2 separate regions of the Homo sapiens genome follow, and region 2 is linked to region 1. Evidence: promoter capture Hi-C in human tissues and cell types (Jung and others, 2019). All regions are on one chromosome and are shown on one strand. The core of a region is centred on a gene start or on the middle of the fragment in contact, and the rest is flanking DNA. Distances in the headings are between cores, read along the strand shown.

Region 1 (7,559 bases), core at 3,732-6,231:
TCTGGGGTCCTGTTTAACTCTATTTTTTTTCACTGTGGTCTTTTTTTTTTTCTCTTAAGTTTGCTTCTTAGAAAATTTCACACAGCCTGTTTTCTGTAATATAGTACAGTTTATCATTTAATATAAAATTTCTTCTAGACAAACACCAGAAGTTGAAAAGACAAAAAGTATGAAATAAATCCTCAAAATAGAGTAGTTAGGAAAAAGAATTATAAATCTGGGGCTTTTAAAATAGTTTTTTTTCCATCTCAGTCAGAAACTTTAAAGCAGTCACTTTATCTTCCCTGACTCAGTTTCTCCACAAGTGAAAAGACATAATAGTCCACAGTGACTAGTTAGGATCCTTTATAGTCAACTGTGAATGGCTGGAAACGTGGACAGCTAATATGATTCCACTATTGTATGGGAGAGGCATCATGTGAATTAGTGGGAATCACCTTTATTAGTGAAGAAAAAAATCACTTGATGATTTGTAGGAATCCGGGGAGAATGCTGAGAATTTGTGGCTGAAACTTCTCTTAGGAAAAGAGAGAGATTGAGTGAGAGCGAGAGCGAGACAGAGAGAGAGAGAGAGAGAGAAAGCGAGAGGCACATGCTAGAACAAAGCTCCTTTCATTTGTTCCTGGGAGTGGCTGGGTGTGTCAAATCATCCCTCAGCCTCGATGCTGAGTAATCAAGTATAATATTTGCAAAGCTTCAACCTATAGGTAAGAAAAAGCACCAACAAAACAGTCTCCTAGGTTATTAAATATTTAGTCCAATGATTACTTGTGTTGAACTAGAGGAAGTTATTGCTTCATACAATTGTATAATGAATGAATGAATAATTCATTCTTTGAGCTATGTATCTCCCCTCCAAAAAATCTACTCTTTTAAATATATAGTCAATAAAATGGTTTTTGTGGCAAATAAAGAGAGGGGAAAACATTATGGATTATTTTTGAAATTATAGAGCAAATGCTTTTTCCTACAAACAGGTGTATTCTTTGTCACTAAATTTTTTTAAATAAATCATTTATTTGGTTGGGTGCGGTGGCTTACGCCTGTAATCCCAGCACTTTGGGAGTCTGAGGCAGGTGGGTCACAAGGTCAGGAGATCAAGATCATCCTGGCTAACAAGGTGAAACCCCGTCTCTACTAAAAAATAAAATAAAAAAAAAATTAGCTGGGCATGGTGGCGGGCGCCTGTAGTCCCAGCTACTTGGGAGGCTGAGGCAGGAGAATGGCATGAACCCAGGAGGTGGAGCTTGCAGTGAGCCGAGATCGTGCCACTGCACTCCAGCCTGGGCGACAGAGCGAGACTCCGTCTCAAAAAAAAAAAAAAAAAAAAAAAAAAAAAAAAAAAAAAAAGAATCATTTATTTTACAAATGTAAAGTGTTTGGGATGAATCAGATGTACTGGTCTTCATATACAAAGAGAACTGGAGGAAAGGTAGCTGGTATTTAAGGAAATGTCAAACTGACTTCAAATTTTGGGTTGAATTCATCCTTAGTTGAATTCCTGTCGGGTAGGGTTATTTCCCACTCATTCATTCTCTACCCACTATGTGCTAAGTACCCACTATGTGCCAGATACTATTCTAAGTTCTTGGACTACATCAGTGAAAAAAACAGACCAAAAAAATCTGCTTAGATTTCAGCTGAAGGAGGCCATCAACAGTAAACATAATAAGTGAATTGTATAGTATATCATATAGAAAACTATAAAATCTGGCCTTATATCTGCTTCTTATAGGTTCAAAGTTCATCAAGAAGAAGGGAGATCAAAAATACTCTGGAGTTGACTATTCATGGGCCCACATAAAAAGCTTTTCATGAGGCAAGAGACTGAAGATTATAACAGGATAATAACACCATATTGTTATTTTTATGTTGTTGCTCTCTGAGTTATTAGTATGAGTAGAACCTTTTTTCTTATAAGTCTGATGCTTCTAAGTCCACTTGTTAACATAATTGACATGACAACTTTGTTCTTTCCAGGCATTTCCTTCAGGATGTATGTTTTTTTTTTTTTTTTTTTTTTTTTTTTACAGTATAACAATTAGTGTAGGTATCTGACTTATAGAAATGCAAAGCTAAACTGTAGTCGGCTTGAGATCCATAGTTAGGTCTTATTCTGGGTCTTGCCCAGGGTCTGACACACTCAAAAAATGCTTATTCAGTCAATCACAGACTCCAATCAAAATGTCCAGTTAAAACAGGGAAGCAGAGTAGAAACCTATTGAATGCAGAAGACTTTATTGAGGCCACTCTTTCCTAAAATTAATCAGCAGGCATGTTCTCCAGAAACTAGTTTGAAATTCTGTAATTTAAAAAATGTGAACTGCTTGTATAACTCCATCCTCTCCCACTTTTCTGTTTTCTAGTGTCTTTTTAGGTAGAATTCTAAAGAACTTAAAATTTTGGCTGCCGTGGAAAAGAATATTACTGGGAAATGGGTCTTCTCAGTCAAATAGAATCACAGTTTTAATACTCTTTCCACTGAATGGGAACCACTTTTTTTTTTCCTGCAATTTTGCCTAAATCAACAGTGTGTTTTGTCAATGATGTTACACCTGAGACTTGTGAGTCCTTGCCTTACTTGGGTTCAATGAGAGGGTGAGAACATTCACGTACAGGGTCTGACCTCCAGAGATACTTCAACAAGTGAAAGCTTTTGACAGGAAATGTTCTGTTTAATCTTTTGTTAACATATCTGTCCAATATACCTTGTATCATCCCAGCTCTGGACCTCCGTTCTCAGGCTTAAATGGTCTCCTGATGTCCAATGATGCTGCCTCCATGATCCTTCCCCAGTCATAGCCAGACTGAAAAGGTCACACCCATCTCTGAACTACTTTTGTCATTTGCACCTCTCTTAAGTCCCTTATTACATGCCTCCAGATACTTTCTTTTGTTTCTTGTCTTCCTACTGTACCCTTTGGGGAGAGGGAACATGTCTTATAGCCCCAGTCGAATGGTGCCTCTAATTTTCACCCAGTTAGAATCACCCAAAGGCATTTCACTTTGCTAGAACTTCCTTGGGTATTGTTGAATTCCTGTCATTGGAAATGTTTCTGCCCCGGTTGAGCAAGCACTGAACAGGAGTGTTTTAGAGGGAATTAAAACTTCAAAAAGGAGAATAGAGAGGCTCTACCATTTAAATGCAAGTCGCTTGAAATCTGTAGACCACAGTAGCAAGCACGAAGCAGGTATTCAATAAATGTGGTGAATTCAATGTCAATAACATGCTCCAGTCTTTTGTCCACTATTCCCCGAGCCTACCTAACCAATGGGCAAAGTGGTACTAATTGCCATCATTAGGAAGCACATGCTATGTGTCAGAAAGTATGTAAGAATTGTCTCTTCATCCATCTCTGTCTATATCTCATTTTATCGATCTTATTGACAAATGAGAACTATATATAGATCTCATTTTACAGATGAGGAATCTGAAGATAAAGGGATTAAGCAATTTGCTCAGGATTTCTCAAGCAATGAGTGGTTAGACTTAGTTTGCAAATTTATGACTCTGCTCCCAAATTCTCATTTTCCCTCCTACAGCTGGATAATAGAATTTTTAAGAAGCATCCTTCCACACCTCCTCACCTATGACCTTCCCTCCACTTGCTCCACTGATGCCTAAAATTCTGTTTTTGGAGTTCACTTAGTTTATGACTTTGATTCTGGTTAACATTAAAATACCCAGGACATGGGGGAGGGGAAGCTGTTATCAATCTTAGTTTAGTCAGTTAATATAGCGAGTTGCTCTTATTCATTACTCAACAAGCACTTATTGACTGCATACTGTACATCAGGTCTGTACCAAGCTTTGGTGTTATAAAAATGAATGAAGTTTGGCACTTACCTTTAACATTGTTGTAGTCACATATAGGAGAATGTAAGAGATTATTATGAAACAATGTAGTAAATGTACAATAGGGAATTCTAGATAAGCACAGCAGAGAAGCAACCAGCTCCGTTTCAGGTCCTTTCCTGAGACTGATTCGGCTGGAAGGGAGTAGGTCCCGCCAAATGAAGAAGCTGTGGGAAGACAGGAGGACAAGAACAGGCTCCACGAAGAGATTTCAGAGCAGAGCTGCGTACTCCTTTTTCTTTTTGTTTCTTTTGCTCTGTCACCCAGGCTGAAGTACAGTGGTTAGCTCACGGCTCACTGCAGCTTTGACCTCCCAGGCTCAAGTGATCCTCTCGTCTCAGCTTTCCAAGTAACTGGGACCACAGGCATGCATCACCACACTAGGCTATTGTTTTACATTTTTTGTAGAGATGGGGTCTCACCATGTTGCCCAGGTTGGTCTCAAACTCCTGGGCTCAAGCAATCCGCTCACGTCAACCTCCCCAAATGCTGGGATTACAGGCGTGAGCCACCGCGCCAGGCCTGAGTAATCCTAATCACAGGATTTTAAAAAGAAACTTCCTGCGCCACCCATTAAACAATATCTCCTACCAATTTGGTAGTAAATATTTTGCTAATAGTACCTAATTTTTAGGTAGGCACTGTGTTTATACATATATCCATTCCTTCTTTTTTGATTGTCTTTCTGTTTAATGGGCAGCTACCTCTCTTGGCATCTAGCAGAATGAGCTGCTGCAGTTTACACAAAAAGAATGGAGATCAGAGTACTTTTTGTGCCACCAACGTGTCTGAGAAATTTGTAGTGTTACTATCATCACACATTACTTTTATTTCATCGAATATTTCACCTTCCGGTCCTGCGTGGGCCGAGAGGATTGCCGTACGCATGTCTGTACGTATGCATGTAACTCACAGCCCCTTCCTGCCCGAACATGTTGGAGGCCTTTTGGAAGCTGTGCAGACAACAGTAACTTCAGCCTGAATCATTTCTTTCAATTGTGGACAAGCTGCCAAGAGGCTTGAGTAGGAGAGGAGTGCCGCCGAGGCGGGGCGGGGCGGGGCGTGGAGCTGGGCTGGCAGTGGGCGTGGCGGTGCTGCCCAGGTGAGCCACCGCTGCTTCTGCCCAGACACGGTCGCCTCCACATCCAGGTCTTTGTGCTCCTCGCTTGCCTGTTCCTTTTCCACGCATTTTCCAGGATAACTGTGACTCCAGGTAAGCAAGGTGGGGTAGCAGGGCTGGTGACTTCCTTTTTTCAGGGAAATTCATAAATATCGTTATTTGAGCTGATTTGAGATGGTGAACAAAATGGACTTAGGTCCATTTTGGGGCTGTTTTCAAAGACGGGCTGTTGGGTTGAGTACTGTCGCCTCTCATCCCCCATGTTGGCAGTATTTCCAGCTCCCAACCCTTTGAGCACCAGGAACACTGCAGAGGGAGTAAAATCACTTAACCATACAAGGTAAGAATATGAAGAAGTCACGTGGCTCGGAGGTTTTGGTGGTAGAGGGGTGCAACCGTGATTCACGGAGGAGAAAATACTTCTGAGGACATTTTCAGGCCTACTTTGGAACTCAGAATGAATTTTGCAATGCTAGTTTCAGAAAGGGTGTGGTACCCGCAAACTGGGGAAAGTTGAGAAGTATTGGTGGGTCTGGCTGGCTCTTCTCCCTGGCTGACGTTGTAAGGCTGAGATTTAGGCATATGGACTGCCCTTCTTTTTGGCATTTTTAAGCATCAGATCGCTGTTCATCTACTTGCAACTGCATTCTTCTAAGCGGAAATTATTCTCCCTTCAGTTTTCTGGGTTTCAGCATAACTTTAAACAAGTTACACATTTCAGATGCATATTCTTGGACTTATAAATTGTAATAGCTGCTTGTAGTTTCTTACTCATATGCTGTACACTTTTTCTTATGGCTTCATTTAAGCATATCATACTAAAAACCAACATGCCAGGCTATTCCAGAGACTTGTAACCAGATCCTCAGAGCTGGGGGCTCTTAGACATATTTCAGCCCAGCCCCCTCATTCTGTAGATGAGGAGCAGAACTCACAGAGGTGATCTGGTGTCCAAAGGCACACAGCTTGTAAGTAGCACCGCTGAGATCAAATCAGGCCTTCACACTTGCAGCTCGGGATGTTTCCACAACACCGTGGGTTCTGTTACCATCTTTTTCATCCCCTACATCTCCCGGGAGGTTTTCGATAATGGGTTCCAAACCTCAGTCCCTGTCAGTTAGTGTAAGTGTTCGATGAGTTCCTTCATGGGTGGAGATGAAGCCTGTCTGAGGAAAGGAGTCTCCAAAGGAAATGAGTCAGCAGGTTTATATCTTTGCTTCCTAACGCCTTGAATTGTGCCACTTCAATCCCTCTGGGTTGTGGATTGACTTTGGGGCTATGCAGTCTCAGCGATTTGGGCCATTCTGGTGTGGCTGAGTCTGGCTGTAAGTTTACTGCTTGGCAACAGTGGGCTGGGTCAGTGGTCAAGATCAGGCTTCTAAAGAGACAGGAGCAGCTATGATGCTTCAGAGCAAAGCAGACGCCCCCCTGCCATGGGAAATTAAAGCAATTACTAATAGCTGTATTGTACTTTCTTGCCCACAAAGCACTTTTCATATACATTGATTCACTTAATCACTTCGTTTAGTCCTCATAGTCTTTCACATTGCAGAAACTTCAAAATATCCTATTTTCTTAATCCTGCACATCCTTTGCTCCTCAAAGACTTAGAATGTGGACAACAGAGGTTGTGTTTTTTGGCATTCCATTACTGATATTATAATAGGCAAGGTTTCTCATGGCATTCCCTAAGGACTGGTTATACCAAATACTTGAGAGATGTTTTTCACCATGTCTTTCCATCTTTAAAATGAGGCAGGCCAGGCTAAATGATATCTACGATACTCTGACACAGTAAAAACGTAGTTTTTTTTTTTTTTTTCTTGAGATGGAGTCTTGCTTTGTCACCCAGGATGGAGTGCAGTGGCACGATCTTGGCTCACCGCAACCTCACCCTCCCAGGTTCAAGTGATTTTTCTGTCTCAGCCTCCCAAGTAGCTGGGATGACAGGCACGTGCCACCACGCCCGGCTAATTTCTATATTTTTGGTAGACACAGGGTTTCACCATGTTGGCCAGGCTGGTCTCGAACTCCTGACCTCAAGTGATCTGCCCGCCTTGGCCTCCCAAAGTGCTGGGATTACAGGTGTGAGCCACTGTACCCGGCCAAAAGTTAAGGTTTTAAGGGATGAAAAAACTATACTCATAGCTCTGTTTAAATATGCACGCCCGTGATGTGTGGGTGAAGAGTGTGGTTGATGGTCTATAAGTAAAATGAACATATATTGTTCAAATCAGGATATGTTTGAGAGTAAACGGGGCACTGTTATCAATGTCAAGACAACAGACATAAACCAGGATTGTCCCAGGCAAAGTGGGATGTATATATCCTACCCACAGGACTTTTTTCTCACCTAAATGGTCTAAAGACAAAAAATGTGAGGACCATTGGCTCAGATGCATAAAAAACTTAGGAAATCTTCATACAAAGACCAGTGACAAGCTATAAGTCTAGAGAAGTGAGCACGGCCCTACCCCCAGCCCAGTACATGCGTCTCCATTCACTGGGGCCTCTCTGAATTGAGTCAGTTCTCCCTGTCCCACGTTTTTGCAAGGCTAACTCCTACTTATCCTGTAGGACTCA
Region 2 (6,603 bases), core at 1,043-3,542, 35 kb after region 1:
CAGGTGGGTCACCTGAGGTCAGGAGTTCGAGTCCAGCCTGGCCAACGTGGTGAAACCCTGACTCTACTAAAAATACAAAAATTAGCTAGGAGGCTGAGGCAGGAGAATCACTTGAACCAGGAAGGCGGAGGTTGCAGTGAAAGGAGATTGCACCATTGCACTGCAGCCTGGGCAACAGAGCAAGACTCTGCCTCAAAAAAAAAAAAAAAAAAATTGACGCAGTTGACGTCTTTTCTGAATATCTGGAGGAGGGTACAGTGTCTCGTTCCTTATTTATTTTATTTTATTTTTAGAGACGGAGTCTCGCTCTGTTGCCCAGGCTGGAGTGCAGTGGCATGATCTCGGCTCACTGCAAGCTCTGCCTCTCGGGTTCACGCCATTCTCCTGCCTCAGTCTCCAGAGTAGCTGGGACTACAGGTACACGCCACCACGCCCGGCTAATTTTTGTATTTTTAGTAGAGACGGGGTTTCACTGTGTTAGCCAGGATGGTCTCGATCTCCTACCTCACGATCCGCCCACCTTGGCCTCCCAAAGTGCTGGGATTACAGGCAGTGAGCTACCGTGCCCGTCCTGGTTTCTTAAATTTATACGACCTCTAAACCTGGTAGTCACCCTGCATCTTGGAGGACAATTGTTTAGTAGAGTGAGTTTTGGGAAAAGTCAACTTAGCTGGGAAATAGACTTAGTAAGAAAAATCAAGATTTTTCCGGTTGCCATGTGGATACTATGGAAAGAACCCTGGTGTGGGAGGAAGCCCTGGATTCCAGCAACCAAACCACTCCTATCAATACCTGTATATGAGGGAGGGAGGGTCTTTATCTCAGGGATTTCTGAGATTCCTCTTGAAGCTAATAGTTCACGGGGCCCAAACAAATCCTCCATCCTGAGCCATCCCTCACCCATCCATCTATGTGGAGACGGCTGCCATTTCCATCCCTAAAAGCATGGTCAAGGGTCTGACACTCCTCTCTGACACTAGGAACAAAGGTTGTCCTCCCAAAGGTGAAGAGGCATGATTGCTATGTGCGCCGCCCCCCTCCCCCCAACTTTGGCAGGAAAATGAGAACAAGTGAGGCAAAGACTCACTTGTTATGTCAATTCTAGGACCACATATTAGTGGTGAAATGACTTTTTCTTTCCAGCAATCCCAAAGTTACTGAGGGAGGTAGGAAATGTCAAGACAATGCAACCAACTTCTCTTCCACACCATATAGCTGCTTTTCCCCTGCCCAAATATAAACACAGACTTGCCTCTTTCTTGCAGGCTGCCTAGTCTTTTACTGTTTATTCAGGCTGTTGCCCACACGAGCACCATTGCATACAGGTGTGTAGGTAGATCCCTGCACAAGGATATCCTACAGAGATGGTTAGAGGGAGCTGAAGTCAAGCTTGTAGTCCACTTGCATAGCAGGGCTCCAGGGTGTGGGGCTGTGCCTGTCTGAGAAAGGGTCACCTCTTTTGCATTCACAAAAAGATAGGGTATAGGCTAGCAGTGGCCCTGTTCAGTACTCAGAAAAATTTGCAGAAGAAAAAAGAGCATCATTACATCTTCAGTACTACTATCATTACCATTACTGACATCATCATCATCAATTCGATATGTTACCTTGCTAAGATAATGATCCTCTGTAAAATTAGGGCAATTAGGAGTATATAGATTTTAGGAGCAAATAAGCTGATGAGAAGTAGGCTCTGCTTAGGAGGATGGACATACCCTGGGGGAGAGCATGAGTGAGGGGCGCTGGTATCAGCTGATTTATTGCAAGGAGCAGTCTGATAGCCGTGATGACATGCTGAGACCTGACTGGAGTCAACCTGGGGTCCAAAAGGAGTCGTTGCCATCTCTAGTTCCATCTTTCCTTAGGGAGGATGCCTGGATAAAGGGAGCTGGATGCCTAAGAACCAAAGCCTGGGTACTGGAGAGATGGACACTTGTGCACAGCACCCAAATAAACAAGCCTTCTTTCCTTTGTCAAGAGCTGCTGTCGATAGCTAAATTTAGTCAGCCGCTAGAGGGAGGTGCTGGGAAGTTAGGATGAGCTGTTTTCTCTTGCCCTTAATTCTTCTTGCTGATTTAGGGGAAAGCAGGAACTCCGCGGATTGGATAATTAGGTCAATGGCTTTCCACATAGAGAACAGGTTTTCCCATCGTTGGGCAGGTGTCATTGCAATGTTGCTGGCCTCAGAGTTGGCCTGCCTGAGCTGGCGAACAGGAGACCATTTGGATATTGTTCTCTTTGTTACCAAAATTCATCACAGGCACTGATAATGGAGGTATAGTAAGCATTAAAGAAGATTTGCACTCTGTATTCAATAATTTTAAGCACTTCATTCCCAGTCATAAATTTATTTTTTCATTTAATAACATTGTATTGAGCATCCAATAGACAGCTATCTGAAACGACCTAACTAGACCCTCATTTGCTGTCTCCATCTTGTCCACAAGGTTATCAAGGAAATTTTCGTCAATCTAATTACTCATCTTTTCATTAATTCTTTGGATAAAAACTTATTGGCCAAAGTGTGGGAGAAGAGGTAGGAATAAGACACAGAGCTCATAGCCGTGTAAGAGAAAGTGAGCCGCGAGCAGAGCTGCGATGGGTTATTGGAGGGGCGCTGGAGCAAGAAGGAGGACTCCCGGCTCAGTCTGAGCTGAGTCTGAAAGGACCAGCAGGAATTAGTTAGGAAAACAAAGCCGGGGGGCTAGTGGCCCACACACAGCAAGGACTCAGGAGAAAGGAAATGGCTGTGGGGTCGCGGTGGGTGGTGAGTGTAGGCAGGACTGTGCATGACACCCCAACACTCTAGGAGGTTGAAATTCATCCCAAGGACGATCAGGAGGAGGAAGACAATTCACAGAGGTGCCTGTCAAACTACCTACGGTGAAGGAACAGTTTCCCCCTTTATATTACCAATTCATCATAGACCAATACTTAAGTAAAACAAAATAAATATGAGTTCCAAGGAAAGTAAAATAAAAAAATGAAGACACCCAAAACAGAAGCCCTAGCTTTTCATGATTAGTTTCGACATACATAAAATTACTTGGTGAAGTTTTCCTAACAGTTTCTAGATTCATAATCTCCATTTCTATACTTACGTCATGATGGCCAAGTTTCAGAATCCACAGACTGCCACAGACATGGAGCCTCCTGAGAGTCTCAGTAGTTGAAAGGAGGGCAGAGGAGAGCTCAGATTTGCATTTTTGAAAAGTGTACCTGGCCAGTGGCTGGTGAAGCCTGAAAGAATGGATACAGGTGAGGAGGGAGTTGAAGTAACCCAGGTGAGAGTGTGTGAGGCCTCAGCTTCAGCAGTGGTGGTGGGGATGGGAAGGGGATATCAGGATATGCGCTCTGGAGAGCCATTTTCCCAGTGTAGACACAAATGGGTGTGGTGATTTATTGGGTAGGGATGTGTGGGTGAAGGACCACAGGGGTATTGTGATGGTTCTTCATTTTCAGGCTTATACAACTTAATGGAACCATCTTGGACATGGGAAGTGCAGTGTGACTGTGTACAGGACTCCGTTTTGAAGGGCAGGGCTCTCTGCTGGCATCTCCAGATCTGGAAGATGGTTTCAGATGATAACCATAGGCCTCTATGAACATTTTTAGAAAAGTCCCTGTGTTTATTATGGACAAAGTTTATTATTTTGCAACATCTAAGTTTCATAGGTGTCCTGAATTGAAAATGTAGAATAAAAAGAGTTAGCCAATTAGCTGGTTTGTAAATATCTTTTTGTTGTAATTGACATAAAAGAGGCATCATGGACATGGAATTGTTAAACTGCCTCTGAGCAGTGTATATTACAACTTGTTTACCAGGTTGGCAGCAGAGGGGCAGAAGGAAGGATAAAGGGAGAGAAGTATGCAGGTGCGTTCATATTAACATTTTGTTGATAGCCATTGATGTGTGTGCATCTCTTTTGGCTGTACTATAGGAACATACTAAGTAATTCAATGGAAACATACCTTCTTGCTAATACTTTAATGGTATAGATCTGCTGATGAATTCTCTTAAGAAACATTATACTCAATGTATTCTGTTGCTTTAGGTTTCATTTTAAATTGAGCATTAAGGGAGTGCAGTATTCTGACTGGAACTCTGCTAATGCTTTTATCTAGAGGTCTGTTGCCATTTTTGACTTCTATGAAATTTTTGTCCCAAGAAAGGTGGGGTTGCATTTTTTTCTAACAGCAAAAAAAAAAAAAAAAAAAAAAAAAAAAAAAAGGGCAGGATGGGGAGTAGGGTTTTTTGTTTGTTTTCATTTTTAACATGCTTTTAGTTGCTTTTAGTTTTAGCTATGTTGATTTTGAGATGCCAATGGGACATTCAGCAAGAGACAGGAAAGGATACTAGTGTTTCTAGAGGCGAGAGATGAATCAGCTTATGGTGGGGTCCAAAACCATGGCTGGGAGAGAGCATCAGGAGAAGAGAGTGGGCTGAGGGCAGAACCCAGGGAAGCCAGGATGGGTGGCCCGCCAAGGAAGAGGAGCCATAGAGAGACGGGATGATTTTAAGAAGGGAGTGATTTGGAGAGCCAAGAGCCCAGTGCTACAGAAGACCCAGCTCCCTTACAGACTGAAAAGTTCCTATTGCATTTTCACTGACCTGAGCAAGAATGATTTCGGAGGCAAGTCTGCAGGGTTTTCTTGCTCTATTAGCACGTTAATATTATCCACAGAAGGAATTCAGCCCATTTCAATTGCAAATTCCTGACGAGTAAAGCTATGACAAGGGAACAAAACTTAAGGGAACAAATCCTGGAAACCTGTTATCCAAGGCACCCACCTGTGAGGTGAAAAGTCATCTCCAAAGATTAAAGAATGCCAACATAAAGGAAGCCCACTCTGAAACTCAAGAAAAATTTGATTTGCTTCCTCTTACCTTTGTACACCTCAGTTTCCTACTAGTTTAAGTTTATGTAAGTAACCTTTAGCGAGTAGCCTATAGCTTAACCCTCTTCCCTGTAAAGGAAGGGGAAGAACGAGGTCACTTCTATCTTCCTCCATAGGAGAGGAGAGCGCCTTGTCCAAAGCTCAGTCAGCCCCTCTCCTGCTGCAGCTGAGATTCACCTGAGCTCTTGGCATGCAAATGGCGGTGTGGAGGTAATTTAGGAAGGGATTGGAGATTGCTCTTTATAAGCATAGAGACAGTACTCACGTTACAGCTGTTTTCAGAAGGTCTTATTAGCATTTATCCCGGATTTAAAATAATTTTAAGTGAAGTATATTTAACATTTGCCTAATATTTAAGACAATCCTGGATGAGTTCGCTAAACCCCTCCCTCGCAACTTGTACTTCTAGCTTTGCCATTGTCTTCTCTAACAGTGCGAAACAGAATTTTCATTTAAACACGGGGTCAAACCTAAAAGATGACCCATGATTAAAAAAAAAAACAACAAAAAGAAAACACTGTTTGATTGATTGATTCATTATTTATTTTCTTGGAGTCTTTCCAGATACAACAAAACTAATACCATTCGTTCAAGATACCACGTAAGATAGTAAAATAAAGTACATCTAGGCATTGACTTAGGATCTCTGAGTGTGGGAGAAATATTGGCTGCTGCGTCAAAGACCGAGGCCTTGGTCTTTGAGGTTCACAAAGCCCCAGGGCTGCCAGGTGGTGAGGTCAATAGGAAATGTCTGAAATTAGAGCTTGTGTGTTTATGAAATACTGGGTCACGCAGGCTGAGGGGTTCTGTGAGCATATACAGAATAGTCTGAAGGCACTTGCGGTTTTATCAGTTAGTGCATGGGGGTAAATCTGCAGCTGCTTATTTATTTGGTAACAACTTTTAATTTTGCAGTAAACCCTGTTGACAACATTGAGCTTAAAAAAAAAAAAAAAAAGAAAGAGCATATTTAATGAAAAACCAGGGGTGCTGAATTTGCTTTTCTCCTGTTGACGATGTAACTTGGATTAAAATTTCCCATTAACCACGGGCTGCACTGCCATCACTGACCACATGAAAACCAGAAATGCTAACCTGCTGGAGAAGCACGAGGGTCTCCTCCAAATGTTACAATTTAGCACATCTGGCTGCAAAGGCCTTCCATGCAGCCCTCTGGGAAGTGTGATGTTTCATTCAGATCATGTGACTATTGTCCAAATTAATTAACTCATTCTAATTCCAAGTTTTTCTTATAAGAATGACCCCAACAGTTAAATGATGTCAGTTTTATGTCAGTGTCATGAGCTGTTGCCAATAGAAAATTATTTATGTTAATTTAAATAATGGTTCCAATTTTCTTTTGTGGGATTTACAAAACTTCTGGAATATTTGTCTATTAAATGAGAAACATCTGACACTATTACGAATTTAATTGTAAATTTAAAGGTTCATAATTGAAGATAATACTTATTTCTATAGTGATAACATAAATAGAAATTTTGGTAATGTCAGTGTTTTTTTTCCACTTTTCAAAAATATGCATTTATTTTTCATCATTTGTTTCTCTACAAAAGGAAAACAATGTCACTGTTATAATGAACACATTTTCTTTTCTAAATTAAAAAAATCCCCTAAGTCAGCAATAAACTTGGAATTGGTTGTAGGGCTCATAAAATTCATAATTGTGTCCAAATACACTGTTAT

What was found. The method cuts DNA at HindIII sites, captures the fragments that hold promoters and counts their contacts. A contact is called where the count stands out against the background at its distance.
Region 2: a contact is called between a fragment that was not itself captured here and the fragment with the promoter of SERPINB5 in region 1, in 1 of the 25 tissues and cell types used here (mesenchymal stem cells).

Annotation. Positions count from the first base shown.
Region 1 is chr18:63,471,977-63,479,535 of GRCh38, forward strand. SERPINB5 (serpin family B member 5) reads left to right here and starts at 4,982. Exons shown (of 7, transcript NM_002639.5): 1 at 4,982-5,069. RefSeq lists an enhancer at 3,731-4,930. The HindIII fragment of the contact is 6,902 bases long and covers 3,232-7,559 here.
Region 2 is chr18:63,509,469-63,516,071 of GRCh38, forward strand. No RefSeq gene overlaps it. Among named protein-coding and RNA genes, the nearest start is that of SERPINB12, 30 kb to the right of the region's middle. RefSeq lists an enhancer at 1,731-2,251. The HindIII fragment of the contact is 6,170 bases long and covers 1-5,377 here.